2 separate regions of the Homo sapiens genome follow, and region 2 is linked to region 1. Evidence: promoter capture Hi-C in human tissues and cell types (Jung and others, 2019). All regions are on one chromosome and are shown on one strand. Each heading gives the region's core, a stretch centred on a gene start or on the middle of the fragment in contact. The rest is flanking DNA. Distances are from core to core; before and after follow the strand shown.

Region 1 (4,774 bases), core at 1,228-3,727:
TATCATTTAGATTTTATAAGACTGGAACTTCCTCTTCTGCCCCCCCTTCTTTCTCCAGACACACCTGCTTTTGCACTTTCTGCCCCCTTCCCTTCCAAGTGAGCAGAAAAGGGTCCCTCCTCTGTATTCAGCCTCACCACCCAGCCCAGAGGCTGCCCAGCAGAAGCCACCTCCATTCTCCTACCCCTACATCTGTCCCCCTCTTCTGCCTCCTCCTGGCCCAGGTTCCCCAGCAGCTCTGCCCCTCTCCCCTCACTGCAACCCTTCCAGAAAGACCAGTCCACACTTCCCTCTGCAATTGGCCTCCACCCCAACCACTTCTCCTAGGTGCCCTTGCCAAGGTCACTGGCAGTGTCCTGGTTGCCAAGTCTTAAGCAGACACTTGGGCCCCATATCCTGCTTGGCCTGACAGCTTCTCACATTGTTGTCCAAGCCTTCCTTGTCGAAAGATTTCCTTCCAGCAGCTCCTAGGACACACCCTTTCCTGACTTCCCAGCCTGTCTGGCGTGCAAGGAAAAGACAGGTTTCAATTGCAGCTCTGCCACAGTTCACTGTGTGTCCTTGGGGGAAGTGGCTTAACTCTCCAAGCCTCCTCTGTGAGTCAAGGATAATAACAACTTCTTTTTTTTTTTTTTTTTAAATAGAGACAGAGTTTCACTATGTGGACCAGGCTGTTCTCAAACTCCTGGGCTCAAATGATACGCTCCACCTCAGCCTTCCAAAGGGCTGGGATTACCGGCATGAGCTACTGCACCCGGACAATAATAGCTTTTAGTAGGGTTGAGGAAAGACCTGTAAACAGCACCTGGCATACAGTCGAGCTCTGCCCCTCAATCTATCCACCCTCTCAATGGTGGAGTCCACTAGTTGTTCCGGATATCTGTTCTCCCGGTAGCAATTCAGTCCTTGGTTCTTGGTTGGGCATGTGGCTGCCCAGAATGGAAGCTGCATTTCCCAGCTTTCTCTTGCAGCTGGGTCTGGTCATGTTAAGTAAGCTCAAGCGGTGTATGTGAAAGTGCCACGTGGCAACTTCTGGGAACTTTCCTGAAAAGAGAGCTGGTGCAGACCCTCTGCCCTCTTCTTCATCCTTTTCTCCACTCCACTGCCTGGAATGCGTTATGTGATTGCTGGAGCTCTAGCTGGTATCCTGAACCATGAGGTCAAAAGCCACACTCAAGTTGCTGGAATTATTCATTCAACAACATCCACTGAGCACCTGTGCCATGCGACAGGCTGTGTGCTGGACGAATCAGGCACAGTGCTTGCCATCCAGGAGCTCCCAGTCCCAATGAGGAACCAGCAGGTAAACAGATGCCAGGTACAAGGAAGTACCTGGGTGGGGCCACTAACCCATGCTGGAAGTGGGGAGGTCATGGAGAAGGTTTCCAGGCAGAAGTAGGATTGAATTGAACCCTGAAAGACGAGTAGGCGTTAAACAGGCAGGTGGCTGGGAGTAAGGCTATACAGGGCTTGATTAGACCTATTCTCACGGTGAGCCATAGAAAATGCCTCTCGGTGGACTTGTGTTCCTGAAAACTTGCTCTGGGTGCCAGGGAGAGAAAGGCTAGTAGGAGGTGAGACTGGATGGGGCTGGAGGCCAGGGAGGAGGCTGCTGCAGCAATCAGGGACAAGATGGTGGTAGCCTGAGCTAAGGGAGGGGAAGTGGGGTGGAGAGGAGTGGGCCGATTCCAGGGATAGTTAAGAGGCAGTATGGCAGGGCCTGGAGATGGACTGGTTGGAGCAGGAAACAGGGAGGCAGCAGGTGACTCCCAGGCTCCTGGCTCCACTTCGAGACAGGGACGCAGGAGGTTAGATTTGGGGGAAGGATATGGGGCAAGTGGTGGTGCCAGAGGATTCACACGCGGAGGCGTTAGGGGAAGAGGTGGCGGCAGAGTCCCCAGGAACAGCCACAGCGAAGGTCACCTCACTGTCCTGCTGAGTTCCCTCTACTCCCTCGGCCCTCGCTAGGCCATTCCTGTCGCCGGCTCACCGAGCAAGCACTTCACTCTGTGCTAAGCCACCTCTCGGCCTCTCTGCCCCCGCCCCGCAGAAGCTACACTCCTGGGCCTGCCATTCAAGGCCTTCCTCCCCGGGCCTCGCCCCTCCCTCGCACGCACCGCGCCTCGCCCGGGAGGGAGGGGCGCTCTGGCTCCTGCAGGCCGGGATGGGGGCGCAAAGGGTTTGGCGGGGAAGCACGGTCCCCTGCAGGCCCAGGAGAAGGGCCCACGCCGCGGCCGGGAGGGACTTCGGGGACCCCAGGACGCCGGGGGCGTGGCGAGGTCGGCCCCGCCGCAGGGGAGGGAGGGCCCCTACCGCGCCGCCCACCGCGGTCCCTTAGTCCAGGAGGGGGCGGGAGTCCCGGGCTCCGATTGGGCGGCGCTGGCGGGGCCGTTCGCTCCGACCAATGAGCGCCGGCCGGGCGCGGCGGTGGGCGGGGCAGCGAGCGCTGCCCGGAGCCGCGGCGCCCGCGGGCTGAGCTCGGCGATCTGGGCCCCAGCGAGGCGGTGGGGCGGGGCGGGGCGGGGCGGGGCGCGCAGCAGGAGCGAGTGGGGCCGCCCGCCGGGCCGCGGACACTGTCGCCCGGCGCCCAGGTAGGGATCGGCGGGGCGGGGACGCGGGCGAGGAGCAGGAGGACGAACGCCTTAACACCTGCCCCGAGCCTGCAAGGGAGAGGCGGGGGGGGTCTGCCAGGCCGCGTCTACGAGGGAGCTGGGATCTGGTCAGGGCGGGGATCCTTCCCCTTCTGTCTGCGGGGCCGGGTCTGCGGGGTGCCTCGCGGAGTCTGCTCGGGTCTGCGCCGGCCGCCGGGACCGCATCGCCGCGGGTGCCCCGCCGTCTGCGTTCTTCCCCGCTTCTGTCTGCGGACCGCATCCATCCCCGGTGCACTGTCCCCCGCGCCCGGCTCCTGGTGGAGGCCACGTCTGTGCGGAGTGGGCCCGGCCCGGGGCACCCACGTGCGGTTCTCCGCGGAGCGCTCCTCCCACGGCCCGCCGGAGCGTCTTCCTGCAGGAGCCGGGGGCGGGGTGGGAGATGAATGGGGCGGCGGCGGCGCGCGGCTCAGGCTGCGCAGGGTCCTGCCTTGGCTGGGGCGAGAGGGGGCGGCAGAGGCGGGCGCTGCGGCTTCGGGGCCCGGGAGGCGCAGGGCTGGTGGCTGGGGGGGTGTCCACGTGCGCAGGGACCTGCGTGTGCTGTTTGGAGGCGGGTGTGCGTGTGTCACGTGGACGCGGGAGTGTGCCTGTGTCTGCGTGGGGGGTGCAGGACAGGATGGAGTGGTGTGTGAGGGCGGGTCACGCGGACACGGGCGTGTGCCTGTCAGGGGAGGGGGTGTGCTCAAGTCTTGGCGTTGCAGGGCTGTGCAGAGAAGGCTGTGTCACAGGCCACAGGACCGGGCCTTGGTGGTGTCCGCAGGGCGGGCACAGGAGTGTGGGAGGGGCACACAGCCTGTGCGCGCTGGAGGATCCCAGGGAAGTGGCGCTGGCCTCCCCAAGCCCTGCCCTCTTTCCTCCAGTACATACAAATTGACCCCCCACTGCGTCCCAGGCGCACACACTCTGGGGACCCTTCGCCTCTTCCTCGGTCTCCCACCGTCAGTCCTCACAGCAGCCATGGGAGTCGTTTTAAACCTCACCTAACCGAGGCACTCCCCTGCTCACAACCTCCCCCTGGCTTTGGGGGCCTCCTGGGCTCTGTCCACCAAGCTCTCCCCACCCCCAAACCAAGCCCGGAGTCCCAGCCAGGAAATGACTCTCCTATATGCACAGTGCAAACTTCCATCCTCGCCTCATCCTGAAATCCTGCTCAGTGCTCAGAAGAGAGCTCAGGTGCCACCTCCTCTAGGAAGCCATCCCTGAGGCCAGCACAATGAGTGAGGGGGCTTTCTCTCCAGATGTAACTCCTCTTGCTATCAGGTGCCTCTTATGTGGGGAAGACTCCACTCCAGCCACGTCAGCCTCCCTGCTGTTCTTCATACTGAGCAAGCACTGTCCCCTCATGGCGTTTGCACCTGCTGGTCCCTGCACCTGAAATGCTCTTCCCCAGATAACTACACTGCCTACTGCCCCTTCCTTCCTTCAGGTGTCTGCTCCAGTCCTGCTCCCAAAAGGCCTTCCTCAACTACACTGTATCAGCAGCATCTCCCAGCCCCTTTCTCTTGATCCTTCTTACTCGGCTGTATTTTTCTTCCTATATGTACCACTTGACATATCATATCTGAATCACTGGCTTTCTTGTTTGTTGCTTCTTGCCCCCACGAGAAATTAAACTGTATGAGAGCAGAGACTTGGTCTTTTTGGTTCACTGCTGTATCTCCCCACACAGGCTTGCACAGAGTCTGGCAGACAGCAGGTGCTCCGTGACTATTTGTGCTTGCATCCCAGGCGTCCATGTCCCTGGCTGCTCCCTAGCCTGTGACCCCCCCCCCAACCTTGCCCCCAGTCTGAGGCCACTTCTGCTCCTCTATCCATGACATTCCGAGTTCCTGGAAGGCCAGGTCTGGGAGAACTATAACCACATTTGCATGTTGGAAATCCCTCCAGCAGCTGGTGTGGAGGATGGGGTAGGGTGGGGTGGAGGTGTTAGCCTGGAGTCAGGGAAGACCCACATAGTGGGAAACGAAGCAGTGGGTAGAATCTGGACTTCTAAGGGGTTTGACTTGGTGAGCTCACCCAGCAGGTAGTGGGGAGATCAAGGAGGGCTCAGAAGAGGCGATGTCTGAGCTGTCCTCCAGGCAGCAGAGGAGAGGGAGGTGTGTTCCTGGCAGAAGGCACAGCTTGTA
Region 2 (4,774 bases), core at 776-3,275, 370 kb before region 1:
GTATTAACAGGGTGTGGGCCCCACTTAACACTTCGAGCTTATTTCCTACTTTCATTCACTGTGCCCCTGCCACACTGACTTTTTTGCGTTCTTTGTGTGTGCCCGACATGCTGCTACCTCTGCGTCTTTGTCCCTGCAGTTTCCTTGGCCTGGAACAGTCCTCCGCTGTTTCTCCACACAACTGACCCACTTTATTCACTCAGTGTCTGTTCAGTTGTCATCTCATTAGAGAGCATCCCTCACTGGAATATAAACCCCATGAGGGCAGGAACTTGGTCTGTTTTGCTCACTCCTGTATCTCCCAGCTTAGAATCATGGCTGTGGTTGAAGGAATGTATGAATTTATTGAGCATCACCTGCTAGCCATCAAGAAAAGTTGCCTGGATACATCCTTAGCCTCTTGTCAAGCAAACTGGCTGGTCCACCTTTTATTATACTCTGCATAACCTAAGTCTGCTAGGAGCTACCTAACCTACTTTTCATCCAGCCCATTTTTGTTTTAGCAACTAAAATACAATGTTTAAGGCCGGGCACGGTGGCTCACGCCTGTAATCTCAGCACTTTGGGAGGCCAAGGTGGGCGGATCACTTGAGGTCAGGAGTTCCAGACCAGCCTGACCAACATGGTGGAACCCCATCTCTACTAAACATACAAAAATTAGCCAGGCATGGTGGCATGTGCCTGTAATCCCAGCTGCTCAGGAGACTTGAGTCAGGAGAATCACTTGAACCCGGAAGGTGGAGGTTGCAGTGATCCGAGATCGCGCCACCGCACTCCAGCCTGAGCAACAGAGACTGTCTCAAAAAATAATAATAATAAAATAAAATGTAGTGTTTAAGAGCTCAGACTCTGCAGCTGGACATGGATTTAAATCCTAGTTTAAGCTGTGATCATAAGCAAGTCAATTAATTGCTGTCAGTCTCAGTGTCCTCAGCTTTAAAAGGGGGATCATCTGTAGCTCACAAGTAGCTGTGGGAATCCTAGGATATTTCTCAGTTGCAGGAAGAGCCTTTTTCCACAGCGCCTAATGTTTCTTCCACAGCGACTGATGCTTTTCCCACAGCGCCTGATGCTTTCACCCTGGTGCACAGTCTTTCTCTTGAGTCTCCTCTAAAATCACTCTCCATTTCTTTTCCTCAGTAAAAGTAAAAATTGAAAAAAATGTAATTTTTTTGTAAATAGTATATTGAACAGAAAATTTATCATAAACTTTTGTTAGCTTGATGGAATTTGATCAGAAAAATACTTTTGACAACAACCCAAGCAAAATGGGGAAAACATTCCATGTCCTGGGTATTCATTGACCAACACAATAGTCACTAGCCACATGTGGCTACTTAAATTTGATTAAAATTAAATAAAATTTAAAATTAACTTCTCAGTTGTACTAGTCCTATTCCAAGTACTCAGTAGCCATGTGGCTAGTAGCTCCCCCTAATGGACAGCACAGATTAATAGAACACTTGCACCATTGCCAGAAGTGCTTTGGATAGTCCTGTTCCAGAAAATGCTTCATTAGTGGAGGCTGGTAGAAATAAGGAAAGAAGGAACTTTGCTGTTTCCACTTTTTTTTTTTTTTTTTGAGTTGGAGTCTGGCTCTGTCTCCCAGGCTGGAGTGCAGTGGTGCGATCTCGGCTCACTGCAAGCTCCCCTCCCAGGTTCACACCATTCTCCTATCTCAGCCTCCCGAGTAGCTGGGACTACAGGCGCCCGCCACCAAGCCTGGCTAATTTTTTGTATTTTTGGTAGAGATGAGGTTTCACCGTGTTAGCAAGGATGGTCTTGATCTCCTGACCTCGTGATCCGCCCGCCTCGGCCTCCCAAAGTGCTGGGATTACAGGCGTGAGCCACCGCGCCCGGCCCTACTTCTGAAATTTATCTGTTTATTGTTTTACTTATTGAACAAATGTCCCAGGTCATTGATAATTATATATAGTCCAGAGACCTCTTAAGGACTGTTCCTTTTATACCATTCTTTTCTTTTCTCTCCCTTTCCTGGTGACTACTGTCACCAGCTGTAGCTGTTAGCTTTCTCCTTGTGAATTATTTTTACTGAGAAATAAAATTTATCCATTAGTGGTTATGTCAAAGTAAAGCTACTGAATTGTGCTGAGATACACAGGATTCTGTCACTGGCAAGGTGATTTGCTGTAGGCAATTTGAGATACTATCATGATTTACAGCCTTGCTGAACCAAATGAGAAATTGCTATGTCCCCAGAATCTCCTGTTGAACCTGTGGTATTTATTGAACTCCATCTGGTAAGGTACTGTCGGGAGGAGGAGATAACCATGGAATGGGTATAGAGGGAGAAGTAATTGATAGTTAAATACGAATAGCCAGAACTAAAGCTTATTCACAGGGAGTTCTGAAGTCTAGGAGGGGAGATAAAAGAAATTGTATATGAGAAACTATATTTTAAGGTGAAGGGTAAAAAATGCTTAGGAGTTACTTTGAAAACTCAGGGAGAGATTTTTTAAGGAAGTAATGGGGAATGTATTTTGGATAATCAGGGAAAGTCTTGTTGCAGGAGACATTGCTTGAACTGAGCTTTGAAAAATGGCCCTCCTTTGGACATGGGGACATGAGATTGAGGAGAGGTCACTGTTCTAGGTGGAAGGAATTAGTGGGATGTGAAGTTGGAAGAGTATGTTAAGGGCCAGATTATTAAGGGCATTGGTTCAGCATTTGGATTTTATTCTGAGACTCATGGAGCGATACTACCGAAAGGAATCAGCCACGGTAGCGACAGAACAGGAATTGTGTGAGGCATGGCGAAATGACTGCAGTGTAGAGGATGGATTGGGAAGAAAGGAAGTCAGAGAGCAAGCTGTAGCAGTTGATGGTGAGCCATTTGGTAGAGGCTGTGGGGCTGGTGAGGACTGATGGGAGAAAGACCACAGAACGTATGAAAGACAGGACTTTTGAAACCTGGTTGAATGTTGATGAGAGAGAATCAAAGATGACTCAAGTTCTAGGTCTGGATGACTCAGACAAATGGCTGAGCTGCTAAGAGGTAGAGGAGGAATAGATTGGAGAACAAGTATTTTGACCTCACTTTTGGACATATTTGCTTTGCCCAGTATACTTCTATGTGGTGATGTCTAAGTTGGAAGTGTTTCCAGTCAGGAGTTTGGGGTGGAAATGGCTAGTTAGCTAATATTTGTTATGCATCTCTTATGAAACCAGCCCAATTGTCACTGCTATACACGGTGAGCTTTTGAAAGATGTGTAAGTCATGCCACCAACTGTAACATGAGGCAGACGAACCTAGCAGAGTTGAATTGCATTCAGGAAAAACGTATTTCACGGTAGGTGCAAGCTACTGTGCCAGAGATGACAAAATGAGCAAGACACAACCTTAACCTTAATGGAACTTGCAGAACAGAGAGGGGAAGGCAAAGTATTTCAAATAAGCATGCATGTTGCTTTCTAGTTATACCAGGTTTTCTCTTCTATATTCATGATTAATGGCACTACTTTTCAGCCAGACTCTCAAGTCAGTCACCAAAAAGTTATCTCCGACTCCCCCCAAGATCTGCATCAGTCACCAAATCCCCCGGATGCTGTACACCTCTCACATCTGTGCTTTCCTCTCTCCCTCGTTCCATTAGTACATAGTTCTCAACCTGGAGAACCCTGCACAGTACAGTTAACCTGGGAGTTTTTTCTTTTTTTGAGATGGAGTCTCGCTCTATTGCCCAGGCTGGAGTGCAGTGGTGCGATCTCAGCTCACTGCAGGCTCCACCTCCCGGGTTCACGCCGTTCTCCTGCCTCCGCCTCCTGAGTAGCTGGGACTACAGGCGCCCGCCACTGCGCCTGGCTAATTTTTTGTATTTTTAATAGAGACGGGGTTTCACTCTGTTAGCCAGGATGGTCTCGATCTCCTCAGTTCGTAATCCGCCCGCCTTGGCCTCCCAAAGTGCTGGGATTACAGGCATGAGCCACCGCGCCTGGCCACCTGGGAGCTTTTAAACATCCATATTTGTGGGCTGGGCGTGGTGCCTCACACCTGTAATCCCAGCACTTTGGGAGGCCGAGGCGGGCAGGTCACAAGATCAGGAGTTTGAGACTAGCCTGAGCAACATGGTGAAACCCCGTCTCTACTAAAAATACAAAAATTAGCCAGGCTTGGTGGTGCACTCCTGTAATCCTAGCTATTCGGGAGGCTGAGGCAGAAGAATTGCTTGAACCTGGGAAGCGGAGGTTGCAGTGAGCTGAGATCGCGCCATTGCACTCCAGCTTGGGCGACAAGAGTGAGACTCCGTTTCAAAAGAAAAAAAAAAAAGAAAAGTAGTAGTGGTGGTAATTAATCACCAGTGAAGAGCTTTTCTAATCTGATGCCAAGGAAGATAGTATTTTCTGGGAAGCTGACACTTTAATGAAATATTTTTTTGTGGAAGATCCTAATATAAGCCTGGAACAAAAAATTATTCTTGTAGTTCTCCAAATAGAATGTTATCACAGCCTTTACAATCATTTCTCTTTTATCTAATGGACATAGTTAAAGCAGAATAGGTATAAAGTCATTTAGTCATTAAAGAATTACATGAAGAGACTGGGCACGGTGGCTTATGCCTGTAATCCCAGCACTTTGGGAGGCCGAGGCCAGGGGATCACCTCAGGTCAGGAGTTCAAGACCAGCCTGGCCAACATGGCGAAATCCTGTCTCTGCTAAGAATACAAAAAAATTAGCTGGGCATGGTGGCAGGCGCCTGTAATCTCAGCTGCTTCAGGAGGCTGAGGCAGGAGGATTGCTTGAACCCGGGAGGCA

Evidence for each region. The method cuts DNA at HindIII sites, captures the fragments that hold promoters and counts their contacts. A contact is called where the count stands out against the background at its distance.
Region 2: a contact is called between a fragment that was not itself captured here and the fragment with the promoter of CAMKK1 in region 1, in 2 of the 25 tissues and cell types used here (dorsolateral prefrontal cortex and lymphoblastoid cells).

The regions. Positions count from the first base shown.
Region 1 is chr17:3,890,756-3,895,529 of GRCh38, reverse strand. CAMKK1 (calcium/calmodulin dependent protein kinase kinase 1) reads left to right here and starts at 2,477. Exons shown (of 16, transcript NM_032294.3): 1 at 2,477-2,591. RefSeq lists silencers at 2,031-2,570, 2,601-2,780, 2,921-3,170. The HindIII fragment of the contact is 23,333 bases long and covers 1-4,774 here.
Region 2 is chr17:4,255,332-4,260,105 of GRCh38, reverse strand. All of the region lies in intron 1 of ANKFY1 (ankyrin repeat and FYVE domain containing 1), which reads left to right. Among named protein-coding and RNA genes, the nearest start is that of ANKFY1, 6.3 kb to the left of the region's middle. The HindIII fragment of the contact is 5,645 bases long and covers 1-4,774 here.